Regions from separate parts of the Homo sapiens genome. Here all the other regions are linked to region 2. The links are contacts of gene promoters, found by promoter capture Hi-C in human tissues and cell types (Jung and others, 2019). All regions are on one chromosome and are shown on one strand. The core of a region is centred on a gene start or on the middle of the fragment in contact, and the rest is flanking DNA. Distances in the headings are between cores, read along the strand shown.

The links. Contacts are between HindIII fragments. The study calls those that stand out against the background at their distance.
Region 1: a contact is called between a fragment that was not itself captured here and the fragment with the promoter of ITIH2 in region 2, in 3 of the 25 tissues and cell types used here (adrenal gland, heart left ventricle and spleen).
Region 3: a fragment that was not itself captured here is called in contact with the fragment with the promoter of ITIH2 in region 2 in 6 of the 25 tissues and cell types used here (H1 embryonic stem cells, heart left ventricle, liver and 3 more).

Annotation. Positions count from the first base shown.
Region 1 is chr10:7,606,960-7,611,515 of GRCh38, forward strand. The region is part of intron 7 of ITIH5 (inter-alpha-trypsin inhibitor heavy chain 5); the gene reads right to left. Among named protein-coding and RNA genes, the nearest start is that of ITIH5, 58 kb to the right of the region's middle. The HindIII fragment of the contact is 3,117 bases long and covers 122-3,238 here.
Region 2 is chr10:7,700,594-7,704,862 of GRCh38, forward strand. ITIH2 (inter-alpha-trypsin inhibitor heavy chain 2) reads left to right here and starts at 2,723. Exons shown (of 21, transcript NM_002216.3): 1 at 2,723-2,925. The coding sequence starts at 2,842. The HindIII fragment of the contact is 26,123 bases long and covers 1-4,269 here.
Region 3 is chr10:7,621,981-7,626,238 of GRCh38, forward strand. The region is part of intron 5 of ITIH5 (inter-alpha-trypsin inhibitor heavy chain 5); the gene reads right to left. Among named protein-coding and RNA genes, the nearest start is that of ITIH5, 43 kb to the right of the region's middle. The HindIII fragment of the contact is 8,428 bases long and covers 1-4,258 here.

The DNA.
Region 1 (4,556 bases), core at 430-2,929, 95 kb before region 2:
TGTCCATCATTTATTACCTCATATTCTGAGTCAGAGACAAAAACCAGTTTTCCCCACTGTCTTCTGCTTCCTGCCTCAAGTCTCAAATCTCTGTTTTGCAATGTTTTCCTGAAACATGCATCTGCTGGTAGCAACGTCTTGACAAGGGCAGCCCAGTAGACGAGAATAAACACAATCAACTGGCATGTAACTCAAGGTCATTTTGATGAGTCCTTGCTCTAGACAGGTGTCAGCAAACTGTGGCTCAGGGGCCCTGCTGCTGCCTGCTTTTAGTAAATAAGCTTTTACTGGAACACAATCACACCCATTTCTTTGCATATGGCCTGTGGCTGTGCTCTTGTCACAAGGAGGACAGATCTTGCATCCAACAGCAGAGTTGAGTGGTTACAACAGAAACCATCTGGGGGCCGGGCGTGGTGGCTCATTCCTGTAATCCCAACACTTTGGAAGCCAAGGTGGGAGGATCGCTTGAGTCCAGGAGTTCAAAACTAGCATAGGTAACATAGTGAGACCCTGTCTCTACAGAAAGAAAGAGGAGGGGAGAGGGGAGAAACTTGGAAAAATGAATCTTCAGCCTGGCGCTGTGGTTCATGCCTGTAATCCCAGCACTCTGGGAGGCTGAGGCAGGTGGATCACCTGAGGTCAGGAGTTCGAGATCAGCCTGGCCAACATAGTGAAACCCCATCTCTACTAAAAATACAAAATTAGCCAGGTGTGGCGGCGCATGCCTGTAATCCCAGCCTACTCGGAAGGCTGAGGCAGGAGAATTGCTTGAACCCAGGAGGCGGAGGTTGCAGTGAGCTGAGATAGCGCCATTGCACTCCGGCCTGTGCAACAAGAGCGAAGCTCAGTCTCGAAAGAAGAAAAAAAAAATCTTGTCTGCAAAACTTAAGATGTTTATCATCTGCCCCTTTACAAACAAGTTTGATGACACTGGCTCCAGAAAGCCAAAAAGGGAAGCTAGACTCTTCTGATATTTCCTTCTGATATTTCCTGGGGCCTTGCTTTCAGGTGCTTAAACAAGGCCTAGACCTGAACAGGCAAAGCAGGTGGACCCGACGCTCTCTGTTGTCGATTTTTATTTGCATGATAGCCACATAGCGCTTGCCTTCTGAGACCCCTTCCCCCAGTCTTTCAGGCATGCACTCACTGGGCAAGCTTGCATCCTCCTGCTTTCTGAGCGCCTTCATTTGTTCAGGGATTTCTCTCCCCTAACCAGATGGCAAGCCCTCAGAGGCCCTCTGGGTCCCGCAGCTCATGCTGAGCTTTCCTCCAGGCTGCTCGGTGAATCTGACTGCCTTCTTTGATCTCCGTCGTTTAATTTTTGTTTGTTTGTTTGTGACAAGGTCTGGCTCTGTTGCCCAGGCTGGAGTGCAATGGCGCCATCATAGCTCACTGCAGTCTCGACCTCCTGGGCTCAAGCCATCCTCCTACCTCAGCCTCCTAAGTAGCTGGGACTACAGATGTGGGCCATCATGCCTGGCTAATTTTGTTTATCTTTTTGGTACAGATGAGGTCTCACTATGCTGCCCAGCCTCGTCTCGAACTCCTGGGCTCAAGCCATCCTCCCACCTCGGCCTCTCAAAGTGCTGGGATTACAGGCATGAGCCACCATACCTGGCCTGGATCCTCTCTTTTGAAATGTGGCAGACCCACATAGTCTGAAGAAGGCAGCTACAATATCACACTGTTGGACATCACTGGACTTGACAGTCACCCAGCTTGCCCGAGCCACTTTGCCTCAGTCTACATTTCTGCCATCTGCACGCACACTCGGATGTCACTTGCCCGATCCACATCATGAAAGGGAAAGAAGTTTGCCTCCCCATACACGCCCAAGGAGTGCTTAGTGTTAAATAATAAAACGTTGCTCAATAATTCTACGAATCAAAGCAGAACAGCTTCGTGAGTTTTTCACAATACTAGCCTGCTGGCTGGCACCTCTTTGAGTAGGTGACATCTGTGTGCACTCACCTGAGTGCACTGTCCTTCACGTTACTTGGTGACAAAAACAGAGCCTCAAAGCTTGAAAAGTGGTCTACAGACCACCACTGTGTTACGGTCCATATGTGACGTTACAGAGAAGTGGTTTAGGTAAGGCTGACCTGGGCTTGAATCCTAACTTTCCTACTTATAACTTTGTGTATTTCAGCATAATTACATCATTTTCCTGGTCTCCACCTTCCCATGCATAAAATAGGGAGAGCAATGTTTACTTCACTGGATGGCTGAAAGATTAAATGAAGAAATGTACGTAAAACCCTCACAGCACTTGATACGCACTGATCACTCAATGGTAACTACTGTGCCTCAGAAAAATGCAGGATACATTTATTGTTTGTGGGCTGGTAGTTTGGCAGCAAATGTCATTACCCACTGTCTGTGAAGAGTTGGGAATGCATATTGTAATGATCAAACACAAGATGTTCCCCAAGTCCATGGAGCTTACAAATTACTCACCTGTAAGGTTACACATGAAATATCCAAATAGCCCTTGGGAACCCAATTTTGGACAGCGAGGGAGAAACCAATGTCCTAGAGCATAAAGTAAGCCTGTGAGTGAACCAAAATCGACATGCAGATCCCAGTCCTCCTACTCGTTAATTCACGTTTGCCCTCATTTTAACTTGACTAATTCACGTTTGCCCTCATTTTAACTTGACAATTACAGATAAGAAACATGCTTGTTCTTTACCCTCTAAATTTGTCAACTAAATAAAATGGAGAAAGGAAGACAAGCTTCAAAGGCTACGTGGGAACCCAGAATTGGCACAGAGGGACACAGAGTGTGGGAACAGGTTTGAAGACCATTAAAGCATGGAAAACATCTGGTAAGTGATCCATTCGTCACTGCTTGGTTGCCAAAGAGGGTCCCTTAGCCAAGTTCTTTAATATGAATGTGAAAGTAGTAGATCTAATTCTATAGATCAGGGAAAGGAAAGACAAGAAAGTGGACACCATGGTCAAGGAAAAGCATATTCTTAATCCTCCCAAGGACTACATGTCTGTCTGCAAATGTCAATGCTTTAAGCATGCAACTAACAACAAAAAAAAGAAGCCTTCCCTGATTACATTTTTCTCCCCCCTCCCTTTCTTTTTTTTCTTTTTTCTTTTTTTTTTTTTTTTTTGGCTCTTCTCAGCTCCCATTCTCACCAAGAAGTTTTAGCTCAAACTGGGAGGTAGAAACCCTGCCTGACCCAACACCACAGCCATCTCTCAACAAACTCATCTGCAAAAGCACACGGGAGGGAAAACAGCAAAGCCACGTGCCAGCAAACCTCAGGCAGCTCTGTTGCTGTTCCCAAGCCAGGCAGGTCCTGGCTTCCAGGATCATGTTCCCACTGGGATTAGGACAAGAACCAGAAAATGCCAGAGGCACACAGCTTTGGGGGCTCCCCAGGTGCCAATATACCCCTTACCGAGAATATTTTTTTAAGGTTGAATGGTCTTTACAGCTTTTTCTAAATCAATAGTTCAAGTAATTATTAAATGCCAACTATGTGTCCTACATTGCAATAAATGCAGCAAGGTCTTTCAGGCCCGTCAAAGACGAGGGGAGCCAAGAACATTGGGAATAACAGTGAATGATTCTTAATAGAATCCATGTGGATGCATGACAAATGTCCCACATTGCCAAGCCTGTTGACACAATATGAAAAGCCCTTTGCTTGGGATAATTGTCCTCTTCACCAATAGACATAACATCATATACAAGACTCTTCAAAGAGCCAGCTAAGCTTTTCACTTAGTACTGTGGCCTTGGAGATGCTGAGAACTGCAAAAATAGTCCGCAGATTTCAAAACCACTCAAGGCAGCGAGGGGCTTTCAAAATTGCTCAGACATGTGTTTGGCTGGTCTAGGGTGGCTCTCCTGGAAAGAGGCCATGCTGAAGCTTCGAAGCCAGCAGAGTGCATGCCAGACTTTCAGTGGCTAGCAAGGAATGGAATTTTAATATCCAGGAATGAAGGAAGAGGGGAGAATAACAAATGATCTGACATCTGTTATTACATTGCTCTTGCATCATGCGAGGAAATCCCTGCCTTCTGCAATGCAGCCTTCTCAGTTGGGTCTTCAAATGTAAGACTGCCTTGACCTTGTATCCATTTGCACTTCTGCCAGCTGCATACATGTGTGCCTTCTTGCCGCAACCACACTCTTACTTGCACGGTACATGGCTTAGTTCTCAGACTTCAGACCTGGGAGTAAAGGCTGCCACCACCATTTATTAGCCAACTTATCTACCTTTGCAAAGCCTCAGTTTCTCCATCAGTAAAATGGGGATGACAACTAAATTATTTTAAAGATTAAAGATTCTTGCATTAAATCATTCACATAATACTCTTAGCTATTTTGGAAATGGCCCATGCCATATTTTTAAGAAGTGCCCGAATTATTTTATGATTAAAGGTACATTTAGGAGACCCTAATTTAGTTCATTAGTTTTTCTCTGGATAATTTGGGGCAGGGTTTATTTTTCTGAGGGTTATTTGGCAAGAAGATTCTTGATCATTCTCCCACAGGAAGTGGAAGACAACCCTGGGGCACTGGATTGGAC
Region 2 (4,269 bases), core at 1,473-3,972:
CAGAGGAAGCCATCACAGCTCAACTATGTGTAGAAAACAGACCTGCTCCATGTTATGTGCAACCTGACCCACCAAACAAGCAGGTCAGGGTCAAATATAGCTATTTTTCTGGTGAATTCATCCAGCTTTGACTTTGGACTTTTACAAACATGCTCTTTCACAATGACAGGGCTGGAGCTGAATGCTATAAATGTGAGGCAGCTATTGTTATACTGTCAGCTAAACCACAATGACTTACACTCAGTGATGAATCTCAAGTTTGTTGATATTTCCCAGAGTTCCCAATGAGTACTAAATGTTATCTCTTTGTTCAAACATTATGAAATATTGTGATTTTTTTTCTTGTAGATTTCCTACTGATTTTCACATACGTGAAAGTGAATATTCTTGTGGCATTTATGGTAGTGATTTCCATCCTAGAAATCAGTGGATATATTCAATTCACCACGTCACAGCTGCCCAGGCATGATGGGAGGGGTTGGCAGTGGGGTGGGGAGTGCAAGGGGAAAGGGTCTCAGGTTCAAGACTCAGTAGCCTGAATACACAGCCTACGCGGTCGTGCTTCTGAACATTGAGAGAGAGAGCAAATGTTGTTTTGTTTTGTTTTGTTTTCAAGAATTTGGGATCAGGCTGAGCACAGTGGCTCACGCCTATAATCCCAACACTTTGGGAGGCTGAGGCAGGTGGATTACTCGAGGTCAGGAGTTTGAGACCAGCCTGACCAATATGGTGAAACCCCATCTTTACTTTAAAAAAAATAATACAAAGTTAGTTGTGGTGGTGCACGCCCGTAATTCCAGCTACTTGGGAGGTTCAGGCAGGGGAATCGCGTGAACCTGGGAGGTGGAGGTTGCAGTAAGCCAAGATCATGCCATTGCGCTTGAGTCTGAGCCACAGAGTGACGCTCCCTCTCAAAAAAAAAAAAAAAAAAGGACTTTGGGATCTGAAGACAGAGTATCAGCATGGAAAAAAGTCCAGCCTGCTTTTGGTTTGGTTTATTCTGAGATAATTCTGAATATCAGATTAAAATAATCAGAAAGGAAATGATCAATGGAAGGAGGTATGATTTTGAAAGTCACTGCTGTTTTTGGGAGAACATGCCATTGGGTTTTTTATTATTTATTTATTTTTTTCTTTTGAGACCAAGTCTTGCCCTGTTGCCCAGGTGGAATGCAGTGGCGTGATCTCAGCTCACTCTAACCTCCGCCTCCCCAGTTCAAGCAATTCTCATGCCTCAGCCTCCCAAGTAGCTGGGATTACAGGCGCATGCCACCACACCTGGCTAATTTTTGTATTTTTAGTAGAGACGGGGTTGCACTATGTTGGCCAGGCTGGTCTCAAACTCCTGACCTCAGGTCATCCACCCGCCTCAGTCTCCCAAAGTGCTGGGATTACAAGTGTGAGCCACCGCGCCCAGCTGCCATTGGGTCTTAATTCTCCAGAAACAGTATCTCAGTCAAGAATGCAAAGCTGTGGCAGGATTTTTCCATGAGGGGTCCACTGAGGCACTCACTGGCCAAGGTGGGCGCTCAACTAGTCCAACCTAGGCAAGGGAGGGGAGAATCTGTTTTCTCCCTTCCATTATTTCAGAAGTTATGTTTCTCCAGCAGACACACGGCTGTGCAATTTCGAAGACTGAGGGGAAACTAGGGAGGAAAATGCAGAAAACTCTCTGTTGCATGCCCTGTGAATTGGGCTTTAAATGTAGCAAGGAGCTCCAGGATCCCAGAAGTTGGCCTGGGGTGCTTGGTCCTGAGGATAAGACAACCTCCCTTGTATTGTAATTCTGCCCACAGCTGGAGCTTCCTATTTCAGTGTTGCATCCAAGAAGTTACATTTCCTGTTTGTTGCAAGAAAAATAGAATCTGACCAGGATGGAGGCTAGGCATGGGGGCTCACATCTGGAATCCCAGCAGTTTCGGAGGCTGAGGCAAGCAGATAGCTTGAGCCCAGGTGTTCAAGACCAGGATGAGCAACATGATGAAATCCCATCTCTACAAAAAATAGCCAGGCAGTGTAGTGCACACCTGTAGTCCAGCTACTCTGGAGGCTGAGGTGGGCAGATTGCTTGAGCCGGGGGAAGTTGAGGCTGCAATGAGCTTTGATCTCACCACTGCACTCCAATTCTGAGACTGGGGAGTATTGATTTGCCACTGACCTGAGCCCGGCTGATAGGGGCAGCAGGACAGACACTGTTACCTTAATCAAAGACATTCACGAAGCATTCTCACTGAAGATCTGCCCTAGTATCCTGCACAGCCACTTGCCTGGGTCTTTATAGGTAACAGGTAGACAGTCATCAAAGAGATAGGGGAAAACATGCACAATGAATTCTTTGCTCAGAAAAACCCTTCTGTGTCTTCTCCCACTTTTTCTAAATTTTTCCTGCTTTCATTTAGATCAAAGGATTTTGTTTCTTGGAATAGTTCTGCACTTGGTCCTTTAGAAAGGATGACAATTATCTGTAGGTCTCTCTGATTTTAAGATCAATAGAAATCAGCAAAAGCCAAAAAATAAAAAATAAAAATAAAATAAAAGCACACAAGCACATTCAAGCACATCCATCTGCCCCTGACTTGTCCTCACAGTAAGCAACTGCTTCTGACTTTGCTGTTTGAATAACCTCTGGGTGTTCGATCCACCCACACAGCTCAAGTTTGAGCTCCAGAACAAATATTTGTCCCAATTTTGAACAAAGTTAGAGAGTTTTTTCTTCTTTTTTCTTCTTTCTTAAAGCGAACTGTACTCCTCTGCTGTTCCTTTGAACTTGGTTCAGTAGGAAGAAGTGATATCCTCCCCAGACCATCTGCTTTGGGGAGCTTGGCAAAACTGTCCAGCAAAATGAAAAGACTCACGTGCTTTTTCATCTGCTTCTTTCTTTCTGAAGTATCAGGCTTCGAAATCCCCATAAATGGACTTTCTGAAGTAAGTACTTACAGATCACTCCTTGCTGTTGGCTTGTTCATGAGCTCAGTAAATCATCTATTGGAATCGCTATTCAATGGCCTTATTCTGTGTGTAATGGAAACTTAAGATAAAATTCATCTGAGTGCAAGTGTTTACTGTTATAATTACTGGAATGTATATTTACCTTTTAAAGCATTAACAGGTTTTGCATGAAAATTAAGTCAAGATCAATGGGCAGGCATCAGAGCGTAGCATTTATGGAGCAGAGCTGCTCACTCCTCACCTAAAAAATTGGGGGTAAGAATAGACCTAACCCAATGGTTTGCTTTGAGAATTAAATGACACAGTGTAAACTCTTCTAGCAGAGCGCCTGGACTAGTAAGTGCTTAATAATTACTAGCTGTTATGATGATGAAGAAATATTATCACTCTTTTACTAAGAGTATAAGAAAAGTCATTATCAAAGCACACTGTTTTTCATATCTAAGTGAACAGTGATATTTGTAATAAGAGCACTTTAAGTATTCCTATTAAAGCGGAAGATAGCAGGCAGGGTGGAAAAGTACAAGAATAATTCCCATGGAGTACAGGTCTCCACTTTTGTCCCTTAGCCATCTCCAATGTAAGGAAAGTCTTGGACTGAAAGTCTGTTTCTGAAAGTCATACAAGAGCTATTTTTATGCCAGAAAAGCGAAGCATGTTATGGGAACATCCCAGCAAATGCAAAGGCTTATAATACTTGCAGAGTGGATTACCTATAAAAATGCCAGAGAATATGACGGCATATTTACAAAGGGAAAATATCACTCTGTCTGCTTTGAAACTATCATATTTTCCAACACTTAAAAGCCACCAGAGTGTGTTAGAAATCTCAAATTGAAGCCAAGACATCCAAATGTGTTTGTGCTTTTTCAGTCATTTCTAACTGGCATTTCCTTTTAGAAAATACCTACATTTTTAACTTGGGGAGATGTATGGTTCATGTCTGTCCAGTCAGACACTGCAAATGCCTCCAGGGTCTACCCAGATACTTCCCCAGACACCCACCTAATCACTGGGTTGTTTTGATCTCTGTCTTACCACCTGCTGGCAAACTCAAAAATGAATTCCCATGTCCAACAAATGCGAAGGTGTTGTTACCCTCCATTTGGACACCTCTGAGACGTAACCAGCAAATAGAAATATACTAAAGAAATCATTTTATACAAAATTGTGATTGCCCAGAGGTAGAGGAAAGAATATAAAATAATGAATACCAACAGCTATCTCTTTGGCTCTAGATCTTTTGGAAATCATCATTCTCAGCAAAGTAACACAAGAAGGGAAAACCCAACACCGCATGTTCTCACTCATAAGTGGGAG
Region 3 (4,258 bases), core at 1,435-3,934, 79 kb before region 2:
TCCTTCTTGCCCACTTCTATGGTGAGCTGGAGCAGCTGCTCCGATTTGAGGGAGGCCAAGTCTTCTAATCCCATCTTCCTGTCTTCATGCAGGCATTGGTGATCCCATGCAAGACAACCCCAGGGACACACAACTGCCTCTCCTGCCCTCGGGAAAATTCATTCATGCTCTTCCTCCACTCACTGACTCTTCCCTGCCTCTCAGGCCACCAGGACTCCCAGGGGGCTCTCTTCTTTTCTAAAGCCCAGTATTTTAGAGCAAGAAGTTTTGTGTTATCTTTGCAAACTACAGAATACCAAAGAGAGTGGGTTCTAGAGTGTGACTGAATCAAAACGACTGACTTAATATTCCTGAGCTTCAGTCCCACATCTGTTACATGGAAACAATTCCACAGTCACAGAATCATTGTTGAGATGTAGTGAGATCTCATATGTAAGGTACCCCGTGTGGTGCCTGGCAGACAGTAGGTGCTCAATACATACTAGCTCCATCCTCTTCCCCTTCAGAAGTAGTTTTTTGTACTTTGTCCATTATGAAAGGCAACTTATAAAGAAAAAAATGCTCTTGGATAACATACAGTTCACATTTTGTCATAACAGTTTTCTCTATACCACTGAAAGCTTGAAAAAAACAATATTTTAAAAGGACAGACACATAATAAACATTCATAACAGGAAATTCAATATATATACACATTATACATATGTCAATATGCTTATATAAAGAATAATCTTTAAAAAAAGAATAATCTTTACAAAATATAATGAAGTCAGTAGCTGTCTGAAAGTCCCTTAAAATTATACACAGAATTTTGCACGTAAGCGTAAATGTACATTTTTTTCTGAAGAAAGGATGCATTGATTTTGCCACATTCTCCAAGGACTCTAAAGAAAGTTAAGAACCATGTTTATAAGTGCCATTAAATATTCCTATGTCTGATCCTATTAGGTAATGACAAAGTACTTTATAGCTTGTGCATCAGAGTTGAAGAGAACAAAACATATGTCCTTAGTGATGTCCTGATACATGGAGGTTGGTCGCAAACATACAATCTTTTCCTAGACAATTATCACATGGGGAAAGATGGCAGCCAACTGCTATGTAAAATGCCAAAGGTGAAAAGATTGAGAAGAGCCCCATGCTCACAGCCACGGGCTGGAAGCGCCACCCTCTGGGTTGATAGGGAGAGGGATTTCCTGGCCTCTGTTTCCTGAGGGTCTGGGTTTTGGCTGCTGTCGGAGAAAAGCAGCCAACACCTGGTGCATTGACAAAAGGATTTCCCAACACACGCTGCCTGCTCATTTCCTCTTTAGAAAGAAGCTTAAATTGTCTATGTTTGTTTATGAACCCTGCTTACCTGGGATCCAACGAGGCAATTTCTTAAATATATGGAGGTCAAAAATACTGTGAATAATTGGAGCACTACCCTCTGAGGGTGGCAATAAAGATAAAACTCAAGCAAATCAGCAGAGGATTGAAAGAAAAACTGGTAACACAGAGGCAATGACGATGAGAAGGAATTTGGTTAAATACCTTCATAAGGCCGGGCGTGGTGGCTCACGCCTGTAATCCCAGCACTTTGGGAGGCCAAGGCAGGCGGATCACAAGGTCAGGAGATCGAGACCATCCTGGATAACACGGTGAAACCCCGTCTCTACTAAAAATACAAAAAAATAGCCAGGCGTGGTGGCAGGCGCCTGTAGTCCCAGCTACTCAGGAGGGTGAGGCAGGAGAATGGCGTGAACCCAGGAGGTGGAGCTCACAGTGAGCCGAGATTGCACCACTGCACTCCAGCCTGGGCGACAGAGTAAGACTCCATCTCAAAAAAAAAAAAAAAAAAAAAATACCTTCATAAGTCTCTTACTATCCACAGTTTTCCTTTGGGAAAGGATTTTTCTTCCCCCTACGTGAATGTTTGGTATTTTAAATCCTTTTGGAAAACAGCATCATATAGATATGATAGCAACACATAGCACAGAATACTAATTCAAATTTATAGCTGAAGGGATTCAAACTCAACTGTAGTATTTTATAGTTAAGTAGATGTTTGCCCAGGTTTCTTAGCAAATCAGCTTTCTTCACTGCTTATTCAATGCTCTTCCTTCCTAAAATAATAGATTCCCAACTCTCAGTTTTCCATATTTGAAAAAATTTCCCAAGAGAGACTATGTGTGAAAACAAGTACAACTACCTCACCCAGCAAGCACACTTTCTAAAAGTTAACCCTTAAAAATATGCATTCCCAGGCCAGGCACAGTGGCTCATGCCTGTAATCCCAGCACTTTGGGAGGCCGAGGTAGGCAGATCACCTGAGGTGGGGAGGTCGAGACCAGCCTGACCAACATGGAGAAACCCCGTCTCTACTAAAAATACAAACTTAGCGGGACATGGTGGCGCATGCCTGTAATCCTAGATACTCGGGAGGCTGAGGCAGGAGAATCACTTGGACCCGGGAGGCAGAGGTTGCAGTGAGCCAAGATCGTACCATTGCACTCCAGCCTGGGCAACAAGAGCGAAACTCCATCTCAAAACAAACAAACAAACATGCATTATCAGGCCAGGCACGGTGGCTCATGCCTATAATCCCAGCACTTTGGGAGGCCAAGGGGGGCAGATCACCTGGGGCCAGGAGTTCCAGACCAGCCTAGCTAACATGGTGAAACCCTGTCTCTACTAAAAATACAAAAATGAGCTACTAAGGAGGCTGAGGCAGAAGAATTGCTTGAACCTGGGAGGCAGAGGTTGCAGTGAGCCAAGATTGTGTCACTGCACTCCAACCTGGGCGATAGAGTGAGACTCTGCCTAAAAAAAAAAAAAAATATATATATATATACACATATATATGTGTATATACATGTATATACACATATATATGTGTATATATGTATATATGTATGTATATATATGTGTATATATATACATACATATATATATATATATATGCATTATCCCTTTCTGCCATCACGTGTCCATTGGAGACCTCAAATACTAGCTGCCCCAAGCATTTGAATTCAACCAAATGGAAGCCCACCAGAAACAATGGTAGAGCAGCCAAGGAATATGAGATTGAGAGACTTCTGTCAAATGCCTTTGCAGGGTTCTCTGGCACGCAGGCAGAGCAGGGGCTAATAACCGAGAAAAGCAGAGTGGCACTTGGTGCAGACACACAGTGCAATATAATTCAGCCTTCAAAAGAAGAGAAATGTTGACATGTGGTACAACATGGATAAACTTTGAGGACATTATGTCAGGTGAAATAAGCCAGACACAAAAGAACAGATACTGTATAAGTCTACTTACATGAGGTATGCAAAGTTGTCCAGTTCATAGATGAGACAGAAAGGAGAACAGTGGTTATCTGGGACCAGGGGGAAGGAGAGATGAGGAGTCAGTGTTTAATGGGTACAAAGTTTCAGTTTGGGAGATGGAAAAGTTCAGGAGATTGGTAATACACCAATGTGAATAGACTTAACACTGCCAAACACTTAGAAGTGACTCAGATGGGCCGGGCATGTGGATCACACCTGTAATCCCAGCACTTTGGGAGGCCAAGGCAGGTAGATCACTTGATGTCAGGAGTTCGAGATCGGCCTGGCCAACATGGTGAAAACCTGTCTCTATTAAAAACACAAAAATTAGCCGGGCCTGGTGGCGTGAGCTTGTAACCCCAGCTACTGGGGAGGCTGAGGCAGGAGAATTGCTTGAACCCAGGAGGCAGAGATTGCCATGAGCCAAGACTGCACCACTGCACTCTTGCCTGGGTAACAGAGTGATATTCTGTCTCAAAAAAAAAAAAGAAAGAAAGAAAGAAAGAAAAAGAAAAAGAAATGGCTAAGATGGTAAATTTTACATTGTGTGCTTTTTATCACAATTTTTACAAGGTTTTTAATTGCCAGCTCTAAGTTCTGCAAAGGCAGTGACAACATCTTAGACGTCTGTAGATTCCAGGAACCTTGCACAGCGCCAGAAACATGTGAGAGTTCACGTCCAGCTTGCGGAACACTGAGGATGAAAATGATGAAATGCATTAGTGCATAGCTGGGCAGATGGACAGAGCAGCCCTTCAAGGGAACTGATGTTTCTCTTCCCGAAAGTGTTCAGGGGGTGTGGCAGATGCTCTTGGTGATCTGCATCACATCCCCCGGCCCACCTCTGGTTCAGCCACAGCTGCGATGGCCCAGGTCATACATGCTGACAACATCCACCTCCCACAGCAAGCCAAGGCAGCAGGAAAAAGGAAGAAAAAGAGTGAAGCCTC